Regions from separate parts of the Homo sapiens genome. Here region 2 is linked to region 1. The links are contacts of gene promoters, found by promoter capture Hi-C in blood cells and fetal thymus (Javierre and others, 2016). All regions are on one chromosome and are shown on one strand. Each heading gives the region's core, a stretch centred on a gene start or on the middle of the fragment in contact. The rest is flanking DNA. Distances are from core to core; before and after follow the strand shown.

Evidence for each region. Contacts are between HindIII fragments. The CHiCAGO score rates a contact against its expected background, and 5 or more counts as called.
Region 2: a fragment that was not itself captured here is called in contact with the fragment with the promoter of UBE2S in region 1 in 6 of 17 cell types (non-activated CD4 T cells, erythroblasts, activated CD4 T cells and 3 more); the score reaches 8.8 in non-activated CD4 T cells.

What each region holds. Positions count from the first base shown.
Region 1 is chr19:55,404,738-55,412,388 of GRCh38, reverse strand. UBE2S (ubiquitin conjugating enzyme E2 S) reads left to right here and starts at 4,601. Exons shown (of 4, transcript NM_014501.3): 1 at 4,601-4,802; 2 at 5,427-5,574. The coding sequence starts at 4,800. LOC105372462 (a long non-coding RNA gene) reads right to left here and starts at 4,244. Exons shown (of 3, transcript XR_936075.3): 1 at 2,457-4,244; 2 at 2,072-2,178. RefSeq lists enhancers at 3,843-3,952, 3,974-4,268, 4,625-5,138, 7,566-7,651 and silencers at 4,373-4,422, 4,433-4,492, 4,503-4,972. The HindIII fragment of the contact is 9,685 bases long and covers 1,131-7,651 here.
Region 2 is chr19:55,063,696-55,071,346 of GRCh38, reverse strand. It overlaps a transcript of RDH13 not described here. Among named protein-coding and RNA genes, the nearest start is that of RDH13, 4.4 kb to the right of the region's middle. RefSeq lists a silencer at 4,989-5,189. The HindIII fragment of the contact is 249 bases long and covers 3,755-4,003 here.

The DNA.
Region 1 (7,651 bases), core at 3,352-5,851:
TTTCAGTTCTTTAAGGAATCTCCACACTGGTTTCCATAGTGGTTGTACTAGTTTACATTCCCACCAACAGTGTAAAAGTGTTCCCTTTTTACCACATCCATGCCAACATCTATTTTTTTTTTTTTTTAATTATGGCCATTCTTGCAGGAGTAAGGTATTATCTCATTGTGGTTTTAATTTGCATTTCCCTGATAATGAGTGATGCTGAGCAGTTTTCATATGTTTGTTGGCTGTTTGCAATATCTTCTTTTGAAAGAATTGTCCATTCATGTCCTTTGCCTACTTTTTCATTGGATCATTTTTTTTCTTGCTGATTTGTTAGAGCTCCTTGTAAATTCTGGATATTAGTCCTTTGTCAGATGTATAGCTTGCAAATATTAAAATAATGGCAAAAACCTCGATTTATTTTGCACCAACCTTAATATAAGGTGAGCGATGAGGATCCAGTTTCATTTTTCTACATGTGGCTTGCCAGTTTCCCCAGCACCATTTATCGGGTAGGGTGTCCTTTCCCCATTTTATGTTTTTGTATGCTTTGTTGAAGATCAGTTGATTATTGTGGCATGAGAGCAGAGGAAAAACATGGTTAACAGAGAGTATTCCCTACCTACCACAACATGTAGTTCCTTCTAAAATACCATGTTTTCCTTATTTATTATGTTTCATTTTTGGTTCTGTCTTCCTCAACTACAGTAAGCCCTTTGTCTATCTGTTATCTGATGCATCCCAAGGACAAAGATCTTTGTCTATCTGATCTCTGATAAATCCCAAGCACCCAGATTGGTGCCTGGCACATAGTAGGTGCTCAATAAATATTGGTTGAATGTATAACATCTTCAGTCTGTCTGGCGCCCTGCTAGGGACTGAGGACAAGATCCCTGCTCTGCTGGGGCTAATCTTCTAGTTGGGAAGAGTCAAACACACAATCAGGCAAATAATTGCAAATCCTGATAGATCATGAAGTTCAAAGAGGATGAAGCAAAGAGAGCATGGGAGGGGAGGAAAGAGGAGAGAAGCTGCCGTGAAGGGGTGACGAGTTAGGGTAAACCTAGGAGATGAGAAGAAGGAAAGGGGAAAAGCACGACCGGCACAGAGAACTGCCTGTCCAACTGTCCTCAGGGTAAAAAGCTTGGCGTATTCCAGGAACAAACAGAAAAAGGCAAGGAAGCCTCAGGAGATGGTGCAAGGGCTTATGGGTTTTTGGGGAGTCTGGGGCTTATGCAAAATGTAGTGGGGAGGAGGACTCTTGAGTTTTCAGCTGGGGTGGGGCACGTGGGATATGTGTAAAGCAGGGAGCAAACTATAGCTCAGGGGCCTACTTTGGCCACTGCCTGTTTTTGGAAACACACCCATTAGTTTTCTTAGGAGCTACAAGGGCAGAGTTTAGTGAGTTGGACCAGAGACCAATGGACCACAGCATTGGAAAACCTTTTTGGAAAAGGTCTGCCTTCCCGGTTTTCAGGTGATTATTTAGGGTACAGGTGATCCCTCCCGCTCCCTCACCCCAAGTCCAATCTATACCAGTTGCTGTTGACATCATCTCATCACTTCCCCCATTCCTAATGCCACCAATCCTGCTTGGAGCCACCATCATCCCACCTGAACAAAGGTAATCACCTCCTCATTGGCCTCCCTGTTTCTGTTCATAAGTCTGAAGGAGTCATTCTCTGCTCAAAGCCACCAATGGCTCCCCATTGCTCAAAAAACAGACATACTTTTCACCATGGCCTAGGAGGCCCACCAGCAGCCCCTCACCTCTCCCACCTCAGAGCCCTCTACTTGCTCTGCCTCACTCCAATCCAGCCTCGCTGGCCTCCTAATGTTCCCTAAAAGCACCAAGCACAATCTTCTTGACACCTGCTGTTCCCTTTGCTCAAAATGCTTTTCCCATAGACCTTCCAACAGCCCAAATGACCTTTCCTCAGACAGATTCTCCCTGCCCAGCCAAGGTAAAATGGCAGCCCCATCCCTCCCTCTCAAACCTCCCCCTCCCACTAATTGTTCCTGTCTTTATCACTTGCTGATTGTTCTTCAGTCTTTATCACTTGCTGACATGATGGTATAGACTTACTTGCTATCTGGCTCCCGCACCAGGATGTAAGATCCATGAAAGTCGAGGCTTTGTCCCTTTTATTCTCTGCTGTATCCCATAGCATCCTGACAGCTAGAGTGTAGACACTAATAAAGAAGAACAAATGTATTGAATAAATGCAGGTATCCAGAGGGGATCATAATAATTAATAATATCCACCCATTATGGTTGTTACAAGGATTAAATGACATCAAGCATGTAAAGAAACTAGAACAGGGTCTGGCACACAGCAAATAATACATAATAACCATTAGTATTATCATCATTATTGTTATGTCTTTTGGGTGGATTTTTAAGATCAAGACGAATTTAGCCACTAGCTTTGCCTTGTCCCAGCTGGGGAACCCCGAGCAAGTCACTTTACCTCCTGCTCCTTCAGCTTCCTTGTCTGTTAATTGGGTTGGAATCCTCCACACCCAGCAGGCTAAAATTGAAGATCAGCAAAATGCTTATCGGCAAAATGGGATGACGTTGACTCTAAGCAGGACTGGTGGCATAGCGGATGGGGGGACGTGATGAGATTCAGTAGATGACGTCAACAGGAACTGGTATAGATTGGACCTGGGGTGAGGGAGCAGGAAGGGATCACCTGAAGCCATTTCTCCACAAACTAGTTATGATGATGACTTTTTATGCTGTAGCTGTTTCTTCAGTTGTTTTGGGTTTGTTTGTTTTGTACATATTGGTGGGGGTCTCTCACTATGTTGCCCAGGCTGGTCTTGAACTCCTGGGCTCAAGTGATCGACCTACCTTGGCCTCCCAAAGTGCTGGGATTATGGGCGTAGTCACTGTACCCGACCATGTAGGTTTTGTTTTTTGGTTTTTTTTTTTTTTTTGCTTTTTTGTTTTTTGAGACAGGGTCTTGCTCTGTTGCCCAGGCTGGGGTGCAGTGGCGAGATCTCAGTTCACTGCAACCTCCACATCCCGGCTTTAACCGATTCTCCCATCTCAGCCTCACGAGTAGCTGGGATTACAGGGCTGCATCAACACACCTGGCTAATTTTTGTATTTTTAGTACAGATGGGGTTTCACCATGTTGGCCAGGCTGGTCTCAAACTCCTGACCTCAGGTGATCTGCCAGCTTCAGCCTCCCAAAGTGCTGGGATTACAGGCGTGAGCTACCACGCCTGGCCTTGGCCATGTAGATTTCTTTCACACCTTCCTTATTCCTTCTTCAGAAGCTGAGGCCCCATGAGGGGAAGCTGGTAGCCAGGGGTCTTTTCAGGTACCTGTGGCCAAATTAGGCCCAGATGTTAATGCTCTCATCCATGGCTGAAAAAGGCCAAGAAACTAAGAAGAGCTGTGGACGCACAGACTGGCAGAGACACCGAGAGGGCACTGCGACCGCACTGCACAGATGAGCAAAGGAAGGCCAACTTCAGCATTCCCTCCTCCTCTCTAAGCCCCTCCAAAAGGCCTGCTCAGGGAGCTCTGGCCACCGTTCTCAAGCAATTGCCTGACGTTTTTACTGACACTGAGGGCTGGAGATGGTCCCTTTTCCAGGCAGCTATGTGTCCATTTCCTAGAGAGGGAAACTGAGTCCCAGAGAAGGCGGGTGTGGCTGGAGGCCATGGGTCAGTCATAGGCATAACCATGCCGTGAATAACCGTCTTGGCACTCTCTGACTTCTTTCCCTGGCAATACAACGGATCCCAGTGCCCATTTGTCACATAAGGAAACTGAGGCTGGCGTCTTCGATGAAGCCTGGCAGGAGTGGGGGTCACACACGGAGTGCAAGGCTGTCCAAGCCTTCAAGGTCATTCTGACTGATCTTTGAGCCTTAGCAATACAGGACGTGGGTCCAAGAGCATTTCCAGCACAAAATGGCGCCTCATAGAAAAATGTAGTCGGAGTTCCAGCGCCCACCTCCACCACGGCTCAAAGGAGGGGGCGCGGGCGGCAGCGCACACTTCATTTGCATATACAAAAATCAACGGATTTCGTTGGCTGGCAGCGGTTTGATCTGCACGAAACTGGGTCGCCCTCTGACCGGTCTCTATCAGTCATTGGCCCATGCGAGTCTCGTGACCCACCAGTCACTAAAGCGCATCCCTATTGGCCCGAGCGCCTTCCATCACGCGTTTAAAACCCCGAGTCCCGCCTCCCCTCGCCACGCTCCGGCCCCCAGGAAGACCGTTAGTCGCGTGCGCGACTTCCTCAGCGTCAGGGCGCGCCCGCGCGTATGCCGGGCCGTGGCGGCGTCTCATTCAAACGGTCCAATCAGCGGCCGCGTCGCCTTCCCCGTCCCCCTTCCTCTCTTCTTCCCCTTTTCAGCCCCTCCGTTCTTTGAGAACCCTCCCGACCCCCGCGGGCCCCCATTGGCCGGCCCGCTACCCAGCCCTCTCCGCCACTTCCCTCGCTTCTGACCATAGTTTGCGGGGAAGGGAGCGAGCGCGTCGAAAACCAAGGAACGTGCGCGCTGACGTCACGGTTGAGGCTCGGAGCTGAGGGGCCGCGGAGGGCGTGGCCTGCGGGCGGTTATAAAGAGGCAGTGGTGCGCGCGCGGCCGGCTCAGTGCTGCCGGGCACCGGGGCGGCGGGTTGGTCTACGCTGTGCGCGGCGGACGTCGGAGGCAGCGGGGAGCGGAGCGGGGCCGCCGGGGCCTCTCCAGGGCCGCAGCGGCAGCAGTTGGGCCCCCCGCCCCGGCCGGCGGACCGAAGAACGCAGGAAGGGGGCCGGGGGGACCCGCCCCCGGCCGGCCGCAGCCATGGTGAGCACGGGCGATGAGGCCCATGAAGGTGGTCGGGGGTGTCCCTGAGGGAGGAGGTGGAGTCTCAGGGGCCTCCGACGGGCGGCCTTGAGGGGTTTGAGGGCCAGCCTGGGGGTCCCTGACCCGGGATGGGCCCGAGGGCCTTCCCGCAGGCGGAGCAGGAGCTCGGGCGGCCCGCAGTCTCCCTGGCGGCGAGGGCTCCGGGCGCTTTGCGGCCCGCCCATGGGTGTTACCAGGAGCAAGGACGCCCCGCCGCCATCTCCAGACCTGAGCCGGGGTTTCAAGGATGCTCTAACCAAAAATTAGTGGAGAAGGGGGAGAGAGTAGATCTCTGGCCTACGTGGAACCACTGGGGACCAAGCAGGGTTAGGAGCGGGCTTTGGGGGGGGGGTTCTGGGGTGGGTGGAGTTATCTGCAAGCCCCCCCGTGAACCCGCCCCCATTTCTGTTGGAAACTCTGCCTGGGCTGATGGCCTGAAGCATCCTGGGTGAGGGTCTGGGAGTTCAAGGGTGATTGACAGCCTGGGGCCACTGAGTCAAGACTTGGGCAGTCTCAGCATCTTTAGGCCCTGCGGGAAGCCCAGCTCTTAACACTCGCTCACCCTGCTCTCCCATCCGTGCCCAGAACTCCAACGTGGAGAACCTACCCCCGCACATCATCCGCCTGGTGTACAAGGAGGTGACGACACTGACCGCAGACCCACCCGATGGCATCAAGGTCTTTCCCAACGAGGAGGACCTCACCGACCTCCAGGTCACCATCGAGGGCCCTGGTGAGTTTGGAAGGAAAAAGAGAAGGGGCTGCTGCTTAGATCCTCCATCACCCTGCTCTAGATCACCCTAGCGGGAAGTACCCATTACAGGCTGGCCTCGTGTCAGGTGTTGGGATGCATTGGTGGACAGGGCAGGACGCCACAAATGACAATTATGTACTCTTTTCCCACAAGGGTTGAGAAATATCTGGTCATTGAGTTAGTATATCATGGGACGGTACTCTAGATTTGAAGCAAGGCTTTCAGACATGGCTTCCCTGGACCTGAGGGTGGGTAGGAATTAAGTAGGAATGGGAAGAGAGCTCCAGGTGGTGGGAATGGTGTCAGCAAGGGCCTGGGAGGGTGGGCCAGGTGATCTCAAACTCCATCCTGCTGTGAGTGTCAGGGATGAGGAAACAAGCCAGATGCAGATCGTGGGGAGACGGGTCATGAATGATTTGCGGGTCACATGATTTGCGGAGTGATTTAGAATACTGTTTCATGCAGGCTACATTTCTGTTATCACCAGAATTCCTACAAAGTCAGGATTTGAGCAGAGCCTGTGAAGGAATGGTCTAGTCCACGGTGGTGATGGTGGTAGGTGGTCAGGAAAGACCTGGCAGCGGTGACAGTTGAGGTCCTTCATGCCTTGCTGCAGAGGGCGCGGGATCATGACAATAGGAAGGCTCCAGAAAGGCCCTTGGGCAGGTGGAGCTGGGCGCTTGGTAAAAACACATGAAGAAAGTTGATGATGAAGCTGCCAAGCTCTTTTAGGGCTTCTAGGCCTCTTCAAGGAGTTTGTAGAGGAAGCTGGTGGAAGGTTTAAAGCAGGGGTGTGACAAATCCCTCCAAAGTTCCTATTGACTGTAGTGAGGAGAGCCGGCCTGGCAGGGGGAAGAACCCAGAGGCCAGCCAGGAAGCTAGCCTTGGAGATGGGATGAGATTCAGGGGAGGACCTAGCAGGCCGGTGCTCAGGCTGCTGATGGGCTAGGGGAGGGACAGTATTTTGACCCAAGCAAGTGGGTGAGTGGGAGAGGCGTTCACTGGGTTGGGAGGCTGTGGAATTAACAGACAGTTGGATCCTTGATCTGAAAGGCATATAAATGGGCATCTTATAGGAAAGTGCGTACTTGGGTCCCTGCCACCTGGGAAGGGCCTGTGACTGGAGTGGTCAGTTGGGCTGAGACGGGGGATCCAGGAGGGTGCAGACGAGCTTGATAGTGACACAGGTGGGGGCTGCAAGATGGGCATCATCTCTGAGGTTTTGGGGGAGGTCCTGTGGCCCCCTAGGAACCCAGCCATTCTTGCTCTTTTTTTTTTCTCTCTCTAAACGGAGTCTTGCTCTGTCGCCTAGGCTGGAGTGCAATAGCACAATCTCTGCTCACTGCAACCTCTGCCTCCTGGGTTCAAGCAGTTCTCCTGCCTCAGCCTCCCAAGTAGCTGGGATTACAGACGTGCACCACCATGCCCAGCTAATTTTTTGTATTTTTAGTAGAGATGGGGTTTCACCATGTTGGCCAGGCTGGTCTCGAACTCCTGACCTTGTGATCCGCCCGCCTCAGCCTCCCAAAGTGCTGGGATTACAGGTGTGAGGCACCGCGCTTGGCTTTTTTTTTTTTTTTTTGGAAACAGAGTTTCGCTCTTGTTGCCCAGGCTGGAGTGCAGTGGCGCGATCTCCGCACACTGCAACCTCCCCATCCCGGGTTCAAGGGATTCTTCTGCCTCAGCCTTCCGAGTAGCTGGGATTACAGGCATGCACCACCACGCCTGGCTAATATTGTATTTTTAGTAGAGACGGGGTTTCTCCATGTTGGTCTGGCTGGTCTTGAACTCCTGACCTCAGGTGATCCACCCGCCTTAGCCTCCCAAAGTGCTGGGATTACAGGCGTGAGCCACCACACCTGGCCTCTTGCTCTTAAGAATTCTACAGCCTGACTGGGCATGGTGGTTCACGCCTGTAATCCCAGCACTTTGGGAGGCTGAGGTGAACAAATTGCTTGAGCCTAGGAGTGCAAGACCAGCTTGGGCAACATAGTGAGACCCTATCTCTTAAAATAAAAAAGTAGCCAGACCTGGTGGCATGCCCGTAATCCCAGCT
Region 2 (7,651 bases), core at 2,630-5,129, 340 kb after region 1:
CTGTAACCCACAGCAAATGCCTCCCAAATACCAGTCAAAGTGTCCACCCCTGCACAGTCTGACTCAGCCAGTCCAGGGCGGAGGCAGTAAAGCCCTGTCTTGGCAAGTCACCAGGGAAATCCATCACCGAAGCACCTCTCTCCCCCCTCGGCCTGGCTATTCTGTCATTGGCACCTGTTCTTGGGTGAGTGACAGGGCTCTGTGGTCAGGGTTTGCCTCTGTCCCAGTCTGGGATAGCTGTCTTGGGGGGCTGGCCTTTCTTCCCTCTCACCTGGGATGTCCCAGGAACGGAACAGAATTCTCCCCTGGGGCTTGAAGAGCTCACCCCCCATCTCCTCCGTTATCCCCACCCCCACACCACCCAACACACATCCTCTAGTCTGTAGGATTTGCTGACAAATTCCTATGACAGCCGGATGTGGTGCCTCACACCTGTTACCCAGCATTTTGGGAGGCCATCACTTGAGATCAGGAGTTCGAGACCAGCTTAGCCAACATGGTGAAACCCCATCTCTACAAAAGTAGCTGGGTGTGGTGGCGTGCGCTTGTAGTCCCAGCTACTAGGGAGACTGAGGCAGGAGAATCACTTGAACCCGGGAGGCAGAGGTTGCAGCGAGCCATTGCGCCATGCACTCCAGGCTGGGTGACTGACTGAGATTCTGACTCAAAAAAAAAAAAAAATCCTATGACAAGGAGAAAGGTCAGATTCCCTGGCAATGGGAGCTGAGGCATGTTCTTGAGAAGGAGGGAGGTTATAAATTAGATGGGGCTGGGTCTCAGAGAGATATAGCTACTTACATATTAAATAATGAGGCTGAGTGTGGCGTCTCACACCTATAGTCCCAGTACTTTGGGAAGCAGAGGCAGGAGGATCCCTTGAGCCTAGGAGTTTGAAACCAGCCTGGGCAACATAGGGAGATTCCATCCCTACCAAAAAAAAAATTAAAAATTAGCCAGGCATAGTGGCCTGCATCTGTGGTCCTAGCTGCTTGGGAGGCTGAGGTGGGAGGATTGCTTGAACCTGGGAGGTCAAGGTACAGTGAGCCACGATTGCACCACTGCACTCCAGCCTGGGTGACAGAGCAAGACCTTGTCTCAAAAAAAGTAATTAATTTATTTATTCAATACGTAGCTCCTGAGACAAAATGTGTGCCGTACTCTAGACCCTGCTGGTGTGCACAATTCATGGGGGATATGTGCGCTAATGGAAGTGTGGCACAGGGCAAGGGTGTCCCCAGAGAAAGCCCTAATCCAGCTTTATGGGTGGTTGTATGAGGCACAGAAGCCTTTCCTGGTTAAGGGATAAATGGATGGGGTTTCAAAGGATGAATAGGAGTTTGCCAAGGACAATGAAGCAAAGATTGACATTCTAAGCATTGGGAGTGTCCTATGCAAAATCCCAAAGTGATGTAGTAGCAAATACTTAAGCACCTACAGTGTGCCAAGCATGTTTCATGTGCTGGAGATACAGAGGAGGAGGAGACAGATGAAACCCCAGCCCTTGTGATATTGTCATCCTAGTAGGTGTGGTGGGGAGATAAACAAGTAGACACCTGCATGAATAAGACTTTCAGATTGTGGTAAACCCTGTGGAGGAAACGAAACAGGTGAAGGAACGGCGTGACTAGGAGCAGGCAGGTGCGGCTGCTTCAGGTAGGGTGGTCAGGGAAGGAGGCGGCATCTGAGCTTTGACCTCAATTTCGAGAATGAGCCAGGAATGCAGAGAGGATTTCAGGCAGAGGAAACCTTAGGGAGGCTGGCGGGTTAAATCTGCAGGGGTGTGGCTGGCCGGAGGAAGTGAGGTGTGAGACAGTCACGTTGATGGTGACAGCAGCAGTGACCGTAGCAGCCTAGAGGTGGCCGAATGCTTACTCTAATGGGCTGGCCCATCCCTGAGTGTCTAGAGTTCCCAGCCCGCTTAAGGAAGGAAGGAAAACACAGGCAGCTCTAAGTGTACGACGAGGGAGGTCTCATCGGCGGTGAGGAAGCCCAGGCGGGTCCCCTTCCCAGCTGAAAGGGGTTCGGGTAGGTTTTTCCTGGGCGTTCCTCTGAGAACAGCCAGCCCTGGTGAGAGTGCGGGGAGAGGCGCTTATGACACAGGGAGGGTGGGTCTGGGAACCAGCCTGGCAGGAGGAGGAGGGAGACTGCCGGTGGCCGGGAGCTGTTTGTTCTCTGGGAGGGATCGTGGCGGGGTGGTTTGTGCAGCCCTTTCCTGAAACCGGAGGAGCCTGGCTCCTTCCCAGGTCTCTGGGGGATGGGTCGGGGCGGGGGGTGGTGACGGGGATAGGACCCCAGACAGACTTGAGTTTGGATCCTGGGTTGGAGCCGGTGACTTCACTCTCAGCTCCCTGAACATCAGGGCCTGCCTTTCTTCCCTCCCTTCCCCTCCCCTCCCCTCCCCTTCCTTCCTTCCTTCCTTCCTTCCTTCCTTCCTTCCTTCCTTCCTTCCCTTCCTTTCCCTTCCCTCCCTCCCTTTATTCTTTTCTTTTTTTCTTTTCTTTTCTTTCTTTCTTGACAGAGTCTTGCTCTGTCGCCCAGGCTGGAGTGCAGTGGCGCGATCTCGGCTCACTGCAAGCTCCGCCTCCCGGGTTCACGCCATTCTCCTGCCTCAGCCTCCCGAGTAGCTGGGACTACAGGCACCCGCCACCGTGCCTGGCTAATTTTTTTGTATTTTTAATAGAGACGGGGTTTCACTGTGTTAGCCAGGATGGTCTCGATCTCCTGACCTCGTGATCTGCATGCCTCGGCCTCCCAAAGTGCTGGGATTACAGGCCTGAGCCACAGTGCCCGGCCTCCTCTTTCTTTTTTTGAGACAGAATCTCACTCTGTCACCCAGGCTGGAGTGCAGAGGTGTGGTCTCGGCTCACTGCAACTTCCGCCTCCCAGGCTCAAGCGATTCTCCTGCCTCAGCCTTCCGAGTAGCTGGGACTACAGGCGCGTGCCACCATGCCCAGCTAATTTTTTGGTACTTGTAGTAGAGACAGGGTTTCACCATGTTGGCCAGGCTGGTTTCAAACCCCTAATCTCCAGTGATCTGCCTGCCTTGGCCTCTCAAAGTGCTGGGATTAAAGGCGTGAGCTACCGTGCCAGGCCGTGGAGTAGCTAAACTTATCTTACACTGCTGAGGTCTCTCAAGATGTGTGTAGGGAGAGAGAGTTGGGGGGAGAGAGAGAGACAAAGGAAAAGAGGAAGAGAGAGACAGGGAGAAAGAGAGGAAGAAAGAGAAAGAGAGAAACAGGAAGAGTGAGAGGAGAAAGAGAGGAAGGGGGAGAGAAAGAGAGATGGGGGAGAAAGAGAGAGAGAGAAGGAGACACAGGAGGGGGAGAGAAAGAGGGAGAGAGCAATGAGAGAGATATGAGACAGAGAAGAGAGAGAGAGGAGACACGGAGGAGGGGGACAGAAAGAGGGAGACAGAGAGATGAGAGAGAGAAAAGACACAGATGAGGGGGAGAGAAAGAGGGAGAGAGAGATGAGAGAGAGATTGATAGCACCCAGCTAATCAATCAGTGGCTTTAGTGCCATGAGCTGGAAGGGAGGAATGGATACTGGGGAACAGTTGGTTGACTTTCCCTGGTGGGACAGCCCCTCTTTCTAGAACTACCTTTCCTATGTCCCCTGTGCTTCTCTCCAGTCCATACTCTACATCTCAGCCAGAAAAGAAGAAATTCTAAAACATGTATCTGCCCGTGACATGACCCTCCTTGGCTCAACACTCTTCAGCGGTACCCAGCGCCCTCTGAGTCAACGCCAAGCTTCCTACCATGGCATTGGAGCCGCGCTCTGGGTCCTTTTACTGATGGCTCCCGCCTCAGCCCTTCCACCCCCTCCCATACCCTGCATGCCAGCCCAGGCAGCCCTCCCTCCTCCCACAATATCTCTCATATGCATTCCTGTCCCATGCCTTCTGCTTAAGCTGTTCCCACAGCCCGGAGTCTCCTCCCTGGCTGAGGGAAATCTTGCCGGCTCACATGGCCGTGATCCCCATCATTTCCTGCAGAAAGCTTGCCCAGCTCTCCGACACGGGGACCTTCTGCCCCTCCTGAGCCCTGAGTCCCCTCCATCTTAACTGGGAGGTCACCTGTTTGCGTGGTGTCTGCTCAGCTTGCAGGCAAGGCCACCAACACCCTCCTTTCCTGTCTTTCCTTCCTACCATCCTCTCCTGTCCACCCTCTGCCTCTCCCTCCCTTCTTCTCTTCTTTCCTTCTAGTTACTGAGCCATGCATGTGTTGCATGCAGCAAGGATGAATAAAATAAAATAAACCTACAGCAATCATTCCAGTTACTATGGCCATATAACAAATTATTCTAAAACTCAGTGGCTTCAGACAAGGATCATATCTATTTTACTCAAAAACCTACCATCTGCACAGGCCTTGGTGGAGGCAGCTTATCTGTGTGCCCTTTGGTGATGGCTGGGGCTGTCAAGAAGCTGGGGCAGTGCTTGGGCTGCAAAGACTCAAATGGCTGGAGTCTGGGACCACTGGAGCTCCTTGCCCCCCTTTGCTTATCTCTACACAGCCACAGGGTCGCTAAACTTACCTTACACTGCTGAGGCCTCTTAAGATGTGTGTAGGGAAAGAGAGTTGGGGGGAGAGGGAGAGAGAGAACAGAGAGAGAGAGACACACACAAGAAGAGAGAGAGGAAGAAAGAAGGAGAGAGAGGAAGAGGAAGGGAGAGGAAGAGAGAGAGAAAGAGAAAGAGGGAGAGAGAGAGGAGAGAAAGAGACAAGAAGAGAGGAAGAAAAAAGAGGAAGAGAGGGATAGAGGAAGACAGAAGGAGGGAGAGGGAGAGAGGAAGAGAGAGGAAAGAGAAAGGAAGGGAAAGAGAGATGTGAGAGAGAGGGAGAGAGAGAGAGAAAAGAGGACAGAGGAAGAGAGAGAGGAAGAGAGAGGGAGAGAGAGGGAGAGAAGACAGAGAGGGAGAGAGGAAGAGAAAAGGAGACAGAGAGAGGAGAGATAGAGAAGAACGAGAAAGGAGAGACAGAATGTGAATGAGAATTGGGTGCCATAAACCCTCTGATGGGGAAAGCAAAGGGCATTGTGGGAGAATCCTCTCAGCACCTGGGACAGCACCCAGTGCTGATCAGGAACATGTTAACAACCAGGAAAATGGTAAAGGCGTGGACAGCCCACCTGGAGTCCAAACAGATGTTCTAACTCCCTTGGGTGTGTCTGGGAATCAGGTAGGAGATCCTCAGAGGAGGAATATGCATGCATTGTTCTCTTTATAATAACCATATTAACAGCCAGCAATGTTCTGGCACTTACTATGGATTAAGTCCTTGTTATGAATGACTTCATGCCATCCTTCCAAATTCAATGACAGGTAGCTGGGCGCAGTGGCTCACGCTTTGTAATCCCAGCACTTTGGGAGGCTGAGGCAGGTGGATCACCTGAAGCCTGGAGTTCAAAACCAGCCTGGCCAACATGGTGAAACCCCGTCTCTACTAAAAATACAAAAATCAGCCAGGTGTGGCGGCGAGCGCCTGTAATCCCAGCTACTCATGAGGCTGAGGCAGGAGAATCGCTTGAACCCAGGAGGCAGAGGTTGCAGTGAGCTGAGATTGCATCACTGCGCTCCAGCCTGGGCATCGGAGAGAGACTCTCAAACAGGAGCTGGCGAACTGTGGCGCACTGCTTATTTTTATAAATAAAGTTTTATGGGAACACAGCTGTGCTCACTTGTTTTCACATCATCTGTGGCTGCTTCCCAGCTCCTCTGGCAGAGGAGGTGCAACAGCCACTGTGTGGATCACAAAGCTGAAATTATTTACTATCTGGCTGTTTGTAGAAAAAGTTTGCTGATCTCTGTCCTGGAAGTCAATGATATTAGGATTTCAGTTTACAGAAAAGGAGAAAAAGACAGGGAAAAACAGTGTTGTTTTTTTTTCAAGGTTGAGAAAATGAACATCTGAACCAATTGCCCATGTTATTAAATGTAAACATTTATTATTATTATTTTTGAGATGGGGTCTTGCTCTGTCACCCAGCCTGGGGTGCAGTGGCACAATCACAGCTCATCATAGCCTTGACCTCCTGGGCTCAAGCAGACCTCCCACCTCAGCCTCCCAAGTAGCTGAGGGTGCAGATGCGTGCCACCAAACCTGCTAATTTTTGTATTTTTTGTAGAGATAAGGTTTTGCCGTGTTGTCCAGGCCGCTCTCAAACTCCTGGGCTCATACTATTCTCCACTTTGGCCTCCCAAAGTGCTGGGATTACAGGCATGAGCCACCATGCCCAGTCTAAAATTTTTCTTTATTTTTAGTTTGGTAAACTATGCATAAAGTAAAATGTACCATCTTAACCATTTTAAGTGTACAATTCAGTGATGTTAAGTATATTCACATTGTTGTGCAACCATCACCACCGTCCACCTTCAGGTCTTTTTTTTATTTTGCAAAACAAACTCTGTATCTATTAAAAAACAGCTTCCCGGCCGGGTGCGGTGGCTCATGCCTGTAATCCCAGCACTTTGGGTGGCCGAGGCAGGTGGATCACCTGAGGTCAGGAGTTTGAGACCAACCTGGCCAACATGGTGAAACCCCGTCTCTACTAAAAATACAAAAATTAGCCGGGTGTGGTGACACGTGCCTGTAGCCCCAGCTACTCGGGAGGCTGAGGCAGGAGAATCGCTTGAACCTAGGAGGCAGAGGTTGCAGTGAGCTGAGATCGCCCACTGCTCTCCAGCCTGGGTGACACAGTGAGACTGTCTCTCAAAAAACAAAACAAAACAAACAAACAAACAAAAACAAATCCTGTGACTTCCCAATCTCATCTCCAGCCCCCTGCAGCCACCACTCTGTTTTCTGTCTCTATGAATTTGACTCCTCCAAGTGCCTCTTATACAGCATTTGGCATTGTGTAACTGGTTTAATACGTTTGAGATGGTGAGAGCTTAAGGTCTACAGGCCTAAGGTTTTTTTTTTTTTGACAGAATTTCACTCTGTCGCCAGGCTGGAATGCAGTAGGGCAATCTCGGCTCACTGCAACCTCCACCTCCCGAGTTCAAGTGATGCTCCTGCTTCGGCCTCCTGAGTAGCTGGGACTACAGGTGAGTGCCACCACATCCAGCTAATTTTTGTATTTTTAGTAGAGACAGGGTTTCACCATGTTGGCCAGGCTGGTATCAATCTCCTGACCTCGTGATCCATCTGTCTCGGCCTCCCAAAGTGCTGGGATTACAGGCGTGAGCCACCGTGCCCGGCCATTGACTAAGGTCTTAAAATAGCTCTTCCTGCCTGTATAATCTCCATTATGGCAGGGCTCATATAAGAAGATGACAGTTCATCTGATGAGGAAGAAAACTTACTCCTAGTTAGATTGGGTTGAATTCTTCCCTGTTTCCAGCGGTGTCTGCTCCTGGCACCTCAGGCACAGTCAGGGGTAGGAGGTGGTGATCAGATACACTCGCTGTGAGCAGTGCAAGGGGAAGCAGGTGCCCAGAGGTGCATCCCGGTTTGGTGGGGGTGACAAACATGGACAGGTAAGTGCAGGAGTGTGTGCAATACTCAATCTAAGAAAGGTAGTTCAGGCAGAGTTCAGGGAAGATATCTCTGTGCAGGGCCAGACATGGGGATGAGATTCTGATAATTTGGGAATGAATCAGGCCCCCAGCCCCTCCTCCCTCAGACTCAGCAGTCCAGGCACCCGG